Linked DNA regions of Homo sapiens: regions 1 and 2 are each linked to region 3. Evidence: promoter capture Hi-C in human tissues and cell types (Jung and others, 2019). All regions are on one chromosome and are shown on one strand. The core of a region is centred on a gene start or on the middle of the fragment in contact, and the rest is flanking DNA. Distances in the headings are between cores, read along the strand shown.

Region 1 (3,547 bases), core at 197-2,696, 750 kb before region 3:
CAGGTGATCCACCCGCCTCTGTCTCCCAAAGTGCTGGGATTACAGGTGTGAGCCACCACACCCAGCCCACATACTACTTTTATGGTTCTCTTTTTGTTGGTGACTGGCATTTTACACAAACCTATTTCCTGGGTCGAAGTGTTAATATTAGAGAGCCGGAGAGTGGTCAGTGTGACACCCTGTGGTTTCAACCCTGGCTGCCTATTAGGATCACCTAGGGAACGAACCATCAAGAAAACAAAACTAATGCCAGGGCCCAATCTGAGATGAATCAGAATCTCCAGGGGTTGCAACCTGGATGGCAGCATTTTAAAAAACATACCATGAGATTTCACCAGGATTGAAAATTATTATAATAGACTTGTAGCCTCCTGGCTGGGCACAGTGACTCATGCCTGTAATCCCAGCACTTTGGGAGGCTGAGGGGGGCGGATCATTTGAGGTTAGGAGTTCAAGACCAGCCTGGCCAACATGGTAAAACCCCGTCTCTACTAAAAATATAAAAATTAGCCGGGTATGATGGTGCATACCTGTAATCCCAGCTATTCGGGAGGCTGAGGCAGGAGAATCGCTTGAACCTGGGAGCTGGAGGTTGCAGTGAGCCGAGATCGCGCCACTGCACTCCAGCCTGGGTGACAAAGTGAGACCCTGTCTCAAAAAAAAAAAGGCTTGTAGCCTCCTTAAGGACAGAAACCTATGCTTTTTCATTTGTGTATCTCTTGGATTTACCAAAGTGTCTGGCACATCCAAAGCTCTCATTAAATGTCTACTTAATGAACATAAATGTTCCTTTATCTTTTTTGTCACTTATTTAATGTTTGTCAAACTTTTTTACTGAAGTGTCGTTAACAGCAGAGGAGAGTGAATGAACTATAGGGGTTCTGCTACTATAAGCAAACATGGAATTTCTTTGAAGCTTCCCTAAATTAAAATGTAAGGTGAACTTCGTATTCGTTGCCATTGCATCTGTTTTATGGGTAACACCCCCACTCCTTCGAGTTAAAATTGGTGCCTCCAGGCAGATGCATCAAATTTGTCCAGAAACTTGTATCCTTTGGCATTCTGTTAATTACCCTGGTTAAGAAGCACAGTATTACCTTTTCTTCAGGGATTAAAACACCAAAGTAGGAGTAGGATTTGGAAAAAAGCAATTTACATTGCTTAAAAAGAAAAGAATTATATTCTTTTCTTTTTAAGAAAGAAGAGGAGTGGTTAGAAAAATAAATTTGGCCAGGCGCGGTGGCTCACCCCTGTAAGCTCAGCACTTTGGGAGGCCGAGGCGGGTGGATCATCTGAGGTCAGGAGTTCAAGACCAGCCTGGCCAACATGATGAAACCCTGTCTCTACTAAAAAAAATACAAAAATTGGCCGGGCGCGGTGGCTCATGCCTGTAATCCCAGCACTTTGGGAGGCTGAGGGGGGCGGATCACGAGGTCAGGAGATCGAGACCATCCTGGCTAACACAGTGAAACCCCGTCTCTACTAAAAATACAAAAAATTAGCTGGGCGCCGTGGCGGGCGCCTATAGTCCCAGCTACTCGGGAGGCTGAGGCAGGAGAATGACGTGAACCCGGGAGGCGGAGCTTGCAGTGAGCCAAGATGGCGCCATTGCACTCCAACCTGGGGGACGAGAGCGAGACTTCGTCTCAAAAGAAAAAAAATTAGCCGGACATGGTGGCAGGTGCCTGTAATCCCAGCTACTCAGGAGGCTGAGGCAGGAGAATCGCTTGAACCCAGGAGGCGGAGGTTCCAGTGAGCCGAGATCGCGCCATTCATTGCACTCCAGCCTGGGGGACGAGAGCGAGACTTCGTCTCAAAAAAGGAAAAGAAATTCAAGTCCCATAGACTCAGAGTCCCATAAATTGTATTATAGCTTCGCGGGGCAGGGGGGAAATGAACAAATATTTCAGTCTTAGAATAATTTTCTTTTTCCTTTCTTTTTTTTTTAATACGGAGTCTCTCTCTGTTGCCCAGACTGCGTGGTCTCGCCTCACTGCAACCTCTGTCTCCCGGGTTCAAGTGATTCTCCTGCCTCAGCCTCCCGAGTAGCTGGGATTACAGGCACCTGCCACCACGTCCGGCTAATTTTTTGTAGTAGAGACGGGGTTTCACGATGTTGGCCAGGCTGGTCTCAAACTCCTGACCTCATGATTGGCCCGCCCGGCCTCCCAAAGCGCTGGGATTACAGGGGTGAGCCACCGTGCCCGGCCTCTTAGAATAATTTTCTAGGTAAGGACTTTCAAGCTTGCATACGTGAGCAGACTGATTTTGGAGTGATCCAATCTTCTGTTTTCCTGCTGCCTGTTAAACACATTTTCTGACTGATGCACTTTTCTGTTTCTTCTTTTTCTCTGCTTTTCCCAAATGTCCTCTCTCTAGCCACTTTTTCTGTATATCTTTCTCACACTCCAGGCCTCTCCTGATCTCTTTCAGCTTTCTCATAGCTGGTAGTTTAAAAATAATTTGCTTGTTCTGTGGTCTAATTACAACAATAGGTAGGAGAGCAAATGAGTCTAGAGGGAGGTGATTAAAGCTTTACCATGTTTGGAGTACAGAGAGAGTCTTACAAAGGAAATAGCCTACGTGTCTGTCCAGTGAGGCCACCACAAAATGCCTGTTATATAACTGGGGGCCCTCATTGGTGCCCCGGGATGAGAAGGTGGAGAGTGGGGGTTGCTAGGAAGCCCTGCATGATTGGCTGGCCCCCAAGCAAAGAAAGGTGAGTACACTGGAAGCATGCCCTGTTGACTCCTTTTACTCCTAGTGGGCTACCTTCTGGGTCCATTGAGTCCTTCTGCATACACGTCTGTCCTGACGTAGACTGGCTACACTGACATGTGAGTCTGCCACCCGCACCTCCCCCCGCTCCAGGCAGCTTGGCTCCTTTTACATAATCATTTGAATTTCACTAAAACTGGCAGCTGGTTTCTCCTTCAGTATTAGGTTGCCAGGCGCCCGAACTCCAGGCTGATCTGTTTACTCTAAAGCTCTTGATGTACTAGTCCTTGAACTACTTTTGGAAGCAGAAGGAAGCATCATTAGTAACACCCCCTCTATTCTTGTGTTTTACAAAGCTTTTCTTGCATCCTTTTCTGTTAGAGGTAAAGTTGAGTAGATACCTCTACTATAGGGACTCTGGGGCATTTGAAGATAATCTGTGCCTTTTTTAGTATGACTAGAACGTGTCGGGTAAGGGAGGGAATCCTCACCTGGCATCTTGGAATTTATTTGGTCTGTGTTTTGGAAGTAAGTAGTACATCCAGGGAATGCCATTTACCAACCCCCATCATTATATTCTTTCTTTTCCCTTCACCATTCTTATGTTCTTTTGTTATTCTTTTTCCTTGTCTTGCCCTTTTGCCTGACAGTACAGGCATTTCCTTGGTAAGATGATCACCTTTGTTTTAGAAGCCTTTTGGAACTCCAGTAGGGTTCCTTGAGTCATACTCAACCCCTTCCTCCTCTTGCAGTGTTGTTTCATCCTACTTTTAAACTGTCTTTGTCATTCCAATAGGTTCGTCTTCCTAGGTCATATTTACTCAGGGTC
Region 2 (3,899 bases), core at 1-2,500, 530 kb before region 3:
TTCCGCTCTGTGCCACGCAACCTGCCAGCTACTGACCCCCTACAAAGGGAGCTGCTGGCACTGATCCAGCTGGAGAGGGAGTTCCAGCGCTGCTGCCGCCAGGGGAACAATCACACCTGTACATGGAAGGCCGTAAGTGGGCGTCCCAGCCTCCCTGAGAGCCTGTTTGCCTGCCTGCCCATCTTCGACCTCTGATCCTGCCAGTCCATCCATCCATGTACCCCCCCTGCTGTGAGTGCGTCCACCCGTTCATCTGCTTGTGGCTGTCCGTCCATCCATTGTGTTTGTCACCTGAGTTTGTTCATCTTGAGCTTCGTACTACACTTCTGGCCTCCTCCACTCATGATCCACACACGCATCTGTCTACCATCCATCCATCCGTCCAGCTCTGGCCTCACCTGACCTTCTCCATCCACTGTTCCAGCTCATCTCCCGGCACCAGCTTGGAACCTCATCCAGGCTTCCACCCGTCCACCTTCCCAAGCCCACACATCAACAGTTGCCTCCTAACCCTCTACTTTTTTGCCATTCCCTTTGGGCCTCTCGGGCTGGGAGCCCCTCATCTAGTTGCCAGGGACGATAAGGGAAGTCGATGGTCAGGAGAGAAGGGGCCAAGTGTCCAGCTTCTGACTTCCCTCTCTCTGGTCCACAGTGGGAGGATACCCTTGACAAATACTGTGACCGGGAGTATGCTGTGAAGACCCACCACCACTTGTGTTGCCGCCACCCTCCCAGCCCTACTCGGGATGAGTGCTTTGCCCGTCGGGCTCCTTACCCCAACTATGACCGGGACATCTTGACCATTGACATCGGTCGAGTCACCCCCAACCTCATGGGCCACCTCTGTGGAAACCAAAGAGTTCTCACCAAGCAGTAAGTTGCCTAGTCCTTCCCCACTCTCTTCCTTTCCCGAAAACTTCCTTTTGGGACACCTTTGGGAAAAGCAAAATCATGATATCCCAACCCCATCTGATGCCAGAAGATGCCCAAAGACCCTAACCCCTGCCCCTTTCACACCAACATAGTAAACATATTCCTGGGCTGATCCACAACATGACTGCCCGCTGCTGTGACCTGCCATTTCCAGAACAGGCCTGCTGTGCAGAGGAGGAGGTGAGTGTGTGGAGTCTAGTCTCCAGAGGAATGCAGGGGAGGGGAGGGAAAGAGCTAGAACTGCAGGCCACCCCTTCTCTTTAGTACCTCAAACCAGCCTTTGGTTATAATGACTAGTGGGGGAGGTGTTTTTTTCTTGGTTCCAGAAAAGTCTTCACTCTGACCTGGCCTGCTCCCCATCTCTAAGTTCCTATTATGCCTTCTCCGGGCCACAAGCTTCTGGCATTTCCAGATGTACACATTTGTCAGTCACAAGGAATCCAGCTGTGCAAGGCAGTCTTGTACTCTCTCTGGGCCCCAGGAGGGGAACGAGGGAGAGAGCAGTAGAAGCTGATGAAAGGGGGACTTTGGCACCCAAGTATCTACATCTGTCCTTGGACCACCTCCCCACCCCATCATCTGTTTTACTTTTCTCATTCATCAGAAATTAACCTTCATCAATGATCTGTGTGGTCCCCGACGTAACATCTGGCGAGACCCTGCCCTCTGCTGTTACCTGAGTCCTGGGGATGAACAGGTCAACTGCTTCAACATCAATTATCTGAGGAACGTGGCTCTAGTGTCTGGAGACACTGAGAACGCCAAGGGCCAGGGGGAGCAGGGCTCAACTGGAGGAACAAATATCAGCTCCACCTCTGAGCCCAAGGAAGAATGAGTCACCCCAGAGCCCTAGAGGGTCAGATGGGGGGAACCCCACCCTGCCCCACCCATCTGAACACTCATTACACTAAACACCTCTTGGATTTGGTGTCCTCATTGTCTATCTAATGTCTCACCCGCAGTGTTTTAAGTGGATCTTGGTGCCCTGGCCCAGGAGGGCACTGGCGTTTTCAGACACACCACAGACAAACACACCCTCCTAAGCCTGCTTGTATTTCCTTCAGTGCCTGGCCCCTGAGGCCCACGGCCCTGCCCCCTTCACTGAGCAGATGTTCACAGGCTGTGGGATGCGACCATAACTAAACAGCTTGACGTCACTTTGCCATCTTGAATTTATTCACATATTTTGAAAGGAGTGCCACCTTGTTAGCTAGCTATCAGGACTCAAAGAAGATATGGTTCTTGGCCTTGGTGAGCCCCCAAAATGCCACAGCCCAGCCTAACATTTTTAAAGCTTCACTTTTGATCCTTAGAATTCATGCCTTCATTCATTCAATATCCTTTTTTTTTTTTTCTTGAGACACAGTCTCGCTCTATCGCCCAGGCTGAAGTGCAGTGGCACGATCTTGGCTCACTGCAACTTGCAACCCTCCTGGGTTCAAGCGATTCTCCTGCCTCAGCCTCCCGAGTAGCTGGGATTACAGGCGTGCACCAGCACACCCAGCTAATTTTTGTATTTTTAGTAGAGACGGGTTTTCACCATGTTGGCCAGGCTCCCAAAGTGCTGGGATTACAGGCGTGAGCCACTGTGCCTGGCCAATATCCATTTATTGAACCCCTATCTATGCACACTCTGCTAGACTTGGGGATACACATCCAGAACACACACAGCCCCTGCCCTGAGGTTGTTCACTGTCCCTGAGCCTAGCAGGTGTGACAAGTGTTGTGGTACAGGGCCCCCAGCGTGCTCTGAGCATGACAGGAACGTCCCGAGGTGGGAGTGGGGCTGGGGGCAGCACAGGTGCACAGGAGGGGCGTTGAGGTCAGAGTTTCTCCAGTAAAGAAGTAGAGGGTGTGAGCGGGCAGAGTGCGCACAAGGGTCAAGGCTGAAAGGACCTGACTCTTTGGTGGCCTTCCTCTCTGATATGGCTGGAATGATAAGCAGGAGCTCATCACTAATGCCTCACCCGCAGGGTTTTAAGTGGATCTTGGTGCCCTGGCCCAGGGGGCACTGGCGTTTTCAAGCGGAGGATGTGTTCCAATTTGCCTTTTAAGAATGTCTAGGCCGGACGCACTGGCTCACGCTGTAATCCCAGCATTTTGGAAGGCCGAGGCGGGCGGATCACTTGAGGTTAGGAGTTCGAGATCAGCCCGACCAACATGGTGAAACCCCATCTTTACTGAATTAGCCAGGCGTGGTGGTGCCCACCTATAATCCAAACTACTCGGGAGGCTGAGGCACGAGAATCACTTGAACCTGGGAGGTGGAGGTTGCAGTGAGCCAGTATCGCACCACTGCACTCAGCCTGGCCGACACAGCGAGACTGTGCCTCAAAAATAAAATAAAATAAAATAATGTCTAGTCGGAGAGCCGGGGAGGTGGCGCGCGCCTGTAATCCCAGCCACCCAAAGAGCTATGGTCTCGGCACTGCACTTCAACCTGCGAGACCCAGTCTCAAAAAGAAAAAAAAAAGTTTAGTCGGCAGCCAGCAAGGCGGGACGCTGGGAGGCCAGTTCAAAGAGTGTCGTCCCAAGTGCCGGAGGGACGGAGCTGTAGCCCCCAACCTGAGCTGGACCCGAGGGTGGCGGTGACTAGGACTCTCAAGCCCTACAAAGCTGCTCCCAGGAACCCGAGGCCTCAAGGCTGGATCTGAAAGAATCGGAATGAAGACTCGGAATGAAGAGTCCCAGGGGAACAAGTCCTGTGTGACTCCGCCGCCAGGACGACCTTCCAGAAAGCAGACTTCTCCGCTCCAGTTCTAGCGGAGACGGAGAGAGTGAACCAAGAACCATCATCCTGCGCCAGCCAGGGGCAAGCGGAGCCTCAGTTGCTCCCAAACCCACGCCCGCCTCTCCTTCCTCTCCTCCTCCACAGGCTTTCATTTATTTACTTAAGTATTTTTAGCCCAGTAGCAGTTTCCAGTCCAGCGGCTCCTCAGATCTTTCGCCGGCTGTCCGCCCCACCT
Region 3 (3,968 bases), core at 144-2,643:
AATGAAAAAAAAAAAAAACCTATACATATAAGTGCAGAGGCAATAAGGAATAAAGGAATAATCACAGTGCAGAGGAGATTCAGACTGGCCCTAGAAATTAGGAAGAGATGTGTTGGCAGTGAACAGATGATATCCAGTGGGGGAGAGGGTGTTAGGGAGCAAAAGTGCTAAATGATGACTCAACCCAATCATCTAGCTCTTCCAATTCACCTGGCTTCTCTCCCCAAACCAGAAAATAAAACCCAAGTCCTACCCCCTGAACCACTTCTCTCCTCCCCCTCTCCCTCTCCTAGGCTGGACCGGGATCTCCATGGCTCAGGAGGGACATAGCACAGGACTGGATAAAAGGCCTTAGAACCAGTTAGTGATCTGCCTACACCTGAATCCCTGAAACATCTGAACTGTTTTGTAAATCATCTTATCCCCAACCTCAGTACCACCGGATCTTCACTTCTCAGTGGGATTTTGTCCTTTGCATGACCCTACTTTCAGCAGGGCTTTGAGGCTGGGAAACTGATCTGCTGGGTGACTTTCATTCCAGTTGCTGGGACGGAAGGCTGAATGTAGGGTCATTTTGTATGGGATATGCAGAGCTCTGGGTTTTTTTGTTTTTTGTTTTTTGAGACGGAGTCTCGCTCTGTCGCCAGGCTGGAGTGCAGTGGTGCGATCTCGGCTCACTGCAACCTCCGCCTCCCGGTTCAAGCCATTCTTCTGCCTCAGCCTCAGCGAGTAGCTGAGACTACCGGCGCACGCCACCACGCCCAGCTAATTGTTTTGTATTTTTAGTAGAGACGGGGTTTCACCATGTTGGCCAGGATGGTCTCGATCTCTTGACCTCGTGATCTGCCCGCCTCGGCCTCCCAAAGTGCCGAGATTACAGGTGTGAGCCACCGCGCTCGGCCAGAGCTCTGGGTTTTAATCCTACTTTAGCTGTAGAACCTTGGGCAAATAACTTCATCTTTTTGGGTCCTAATTTTCCTCCTGTCTAACTGGAGGGACTGTGATCCTTCCACCTTGGATGGAAGAGGCTTACCTGACAGCCAGCCTGCCTGCTGGGAGCCAGGAGAGTCAGCTCATTAAATCTTGAAGAACCGCTGTATGCCCTTTTTCCTTCTAAGTCATGTCTGCTGCCTGTGAGCCTGGGAAGGAGTGCTTTCAAAACCTGTATTTTTGCCCTCTTTAGTAAATTTAGAACTGTAGAGGCTAATAAACTGCGATGAGACATTTAAGCTCTGCTCCAAAGAAGTGAACGACTCTTTCACCACCCCTTGCATCCCAAACCTTCGGTTCTGGCAGAGTTCTTGCCGCAGAGGTTCCTTAGGAGCACCCCGCGCGGCCCGCGCGAGCGCGCCTGCGCGTCGAACCCCACCCCCTTCCCCGCGGGCCTCGGTTCAAACGACCCGGTGGGTCTACAGCGGAAGGGAGGGAGCGAAGGTAGGAGGCAGGGCTTGCCTCACTGGCCACCCTCCCAACCCCAAGAGCCCAGCCCCATGGTCCCCGCCGCCGGCGCGCTGCTGTGGGTCCTGCTGCTGAATCTGGGTCCCCGGGCGGCGGGGGCCCAAGGCCTGACCCAGACTCCGACCGAAATGCAGCGGGTCAGTTTACGCTTTGGGGGCCCCATGACCCGCAGCTACCGGAGCACCGCCCGGACTGGTCTTCCCCGGAAGACAAGGATAATCCTAGAGGACGAGAATGATGCCATGGCCGACGCCGACCGCCTGGCTGGACCAGCGGCTGCCGAGCTCTTGGCCGCCACGGTGTCCACCGGCTTTAGCCGGTCGTCCGCCATTAACGAGGAGGATGGGTCTTCAGAAGAGGGGGTTGTGATTAATGCCGGAAAGGATAGCACCAGCAGAGAGCTTCCCAGTGCGACTCCCAATACAGCGGGGAGTTCCAGCACGAGGTTTATAGCCAATAGTCAGGAGCCTGAAATCAGGCTGACTTCAAGCCTGCCGCGCTCCCCCGGGAGGTCTACTGAGGACCTGCCAGGCTCGCAGGCCACCCTGAGCCAGTGGTCCACACCTGGGTCTACCCCGAGCCGGTGGCCGTCACCCTCACCCACAGCCATGCCATCTCCTGAGGATCTGCGGCTGGTGCTGATGCCCTGGGGCCCGTGGCACTGCCACTGCAAGTCGGGCACCATGAGCCGGAGCCGGTCTGGGAAGCTGCACGGCCTTTCCGGGCGCCTTCGAGTTGGGGCGCTGAGCCAGCTCCGCACGGAGCACAAGCCTTGCACCTATCAACAATGTCCCTGCAACCGACTTCGGGAAGAGTGCCCCCTGGACACAAGTCTCTGTACTGACACCAACTGTGCCTCTCAGAGCACCACCAGTACCAGGACCACCACTACCCCCTTCCCCACCATCCACCTCAGAAGCAGTCCCAGCCTGCCACCCGCCAGCCCCTGCCCAGCCCTGGCTTTTTGGAAACGGGTCAGGATTGGCCTGGAGGATATTTGGAATAGCCTCTCTTCAGTGTTCACAGAGATGCAACCAGTAAGTGTTTGGTGATGAGCCAGGGTCTTTGTTGACGGATCTGAAAAGTCCTGGTATCTAAAACCCAGTTGCTAAGCCAGCCAGTGTTGCTTACATGAACTGTTACTGACTTACCTGGTTATTGATTCATAACATGCATTGGTTATTCACATTGTTAGCCATTGATTCCACCTATTATTTATTGAGCAACTACTGGTTGGTCATTAGGTAAAATGTCTTACTGCTCATTAGGTGATTATTGACCAAATAGTTAAGATTGGAAATATTTTTTTTTTTCAAGACAAGAGTTTCACTCTTATTGCCGAGGCTGGAGTGCAATGGCGTGATCCTGGCTCACTGCAACCTCTGCCTCCCAGGTTCAAACAATTCTCCTGCCTCAGCCTCTTGAGTAGCTGGGATTACAGGCACCCACCACCATGCCCGGCTAATTTTTTTTTTTTTTTTAGAAGAGACAGCATTTTACCATGTTGGCCAGGCTGGTCTAGAACTCCTGACCTCAAGTGATCCACCCGCCTCGGCCTCCCAAAGTGCTGGGATTATAGGCATGAGCCACCATGCCTGGTCTTGGAAATTCTCTGTTTTTTTCACAGACAAGATCTCGCTATGTTGCCCAGGCTGGTCTTAAACTCCTGGGCTCAAGCAATTCTCCTGCCTCAGCCTTCCAAAGTGCTGGGATTACAGGCATGAGCTACTGTGCCCCTGACCATAAGACTTTTTTTTCGAGACAGGGTCTCTCATCACTCAGGCTGGAGTGTGGTGGCGCAGTCACAACTCACTGCACCCTCCATCTTCTGGGCTCAAGCAATCCTCCCACCTTAGCCTGCTGAATAGCTGGGACTACAGACGTGCACCACCATGCCTGGCTAACAAGATCTCGCTATGTTGCCCAGGCTGGTCTCCAACTCCTGAGCTCAAGGATCTGCCCACCTTGGCCTTCCAGAATTCTGGGATTACAGACATGAGCCACTGTGCCCGGCCCATAAAGTCTTTTTGATGCACAGATAATTAACAGATATGAAGGATCTTAATCAATTAATAGTTTTGACCTAATACAGCTTAACAGCAACAAGTGCCAAAATTTGAGGTCTTACTATGTGCACTTTACCTGAATCGATCCTCACATCCTATGAGGTATTATTATCCCTGCTTTTCAGATGAAGAAACTGAGGTTTACAAAGCTAGTAAGTGGCAGAGCCACGAGATTTAAACCAGGTTTGACACCAGTGCCCACTCTCTTCACCACTACCATTTGGGAGTACTGTCCTTCCAGGACAAGGAAGGATAGTCCTCTGCTTTTCCCAGAATTAGCAAAGGTTCTGATTGACTTGATAAGGTAGTCTCAATTGATACGGATGATAGGACTTTGAGGAGGGAAAGGTAATAAAGCTTACACTTGGTCATTTTGCTTGTTTCTGTTTTTCTCCTTGTGTGTCCAATACCATTATTGCATACAAAAATAAGTAAGGGGTGGGC

What was found. The method cuts DNA at HindIII sites, captures the fragments that hold promoters and counts their contacts. A contact is called where the count stands out against the background at its distance.
Region 1: a fragment that was not itself captured here is called in contact with the fragment with the promoter of C1orf56 in region 3 in 1 of the 25 tissues and cell types used here (hippocampus).
Region 2: a contact is called between a fragment that was not itself captured here and the fragment with the promoter of C1orf56 in region 3, in 1 of the 25 tissues and cell types used here (heart right ventricle).

What each region holds. Positions count from the first base shown.
Region 1 is chr1:150,299,688-150,303,234 of GRCh38, forward strand. The region is part of intron 2 of MRPS21 (mitochondrial ribosomal protein S21); the gene reads left to right. Among named protein-coding and RNA genes, the nearest start is that of MRPS21, 7.6 kb to the left of the region's middle. The HindIII fragment of the contact is 5,855 bases long and covers 1-3,547 here.
Region 2 is chr1:150,511,700-150,515,598 of GRCh38, forward strand. ECM1 (extracellular matrix protein 1) reads left to right here. Exons shown (of 10, transcript NM_004425.4): 7 at 1-132; 8 at 653-873; 9 at 1,026-1,113; 10 at 1,538-2,090. The coding sequence ends at 1,768. Among named protein-coding and RNA genes, the nearest start is that of FALEC, 2.1 kb to the right of the region's middle. RefSeq lists enhancers at 3,498-3,567, 3,638-3,787 and a silencer at 3,878-3,899. The HindIII fragment of the contact is 4,741 bases long and covers 1-3,621 here.
Region 3 is chr1:151,046,358-151,050,325 of GRCh38, forward strand. It overlaps C1orf56 (chromosome 1 open reading frame 56), which reads left to right and starts at 1,394. Exons shown (of 2, transcript NM_017860.5): 1 at 1,394-2,495. The coding sequence starts at 1,491. BNIPL (BCL2 interacting protein like) reads left to right here. Exons shown (of 10, transcript NM_138278.4): 10 at 294-1,363. The coding sequence ends at 330. RefSeq lists enhancers at 1,722-1,771, 2,052-2,291. The HindIII fragment of the contact is 7,874 bases long and covers 1-3,968 here.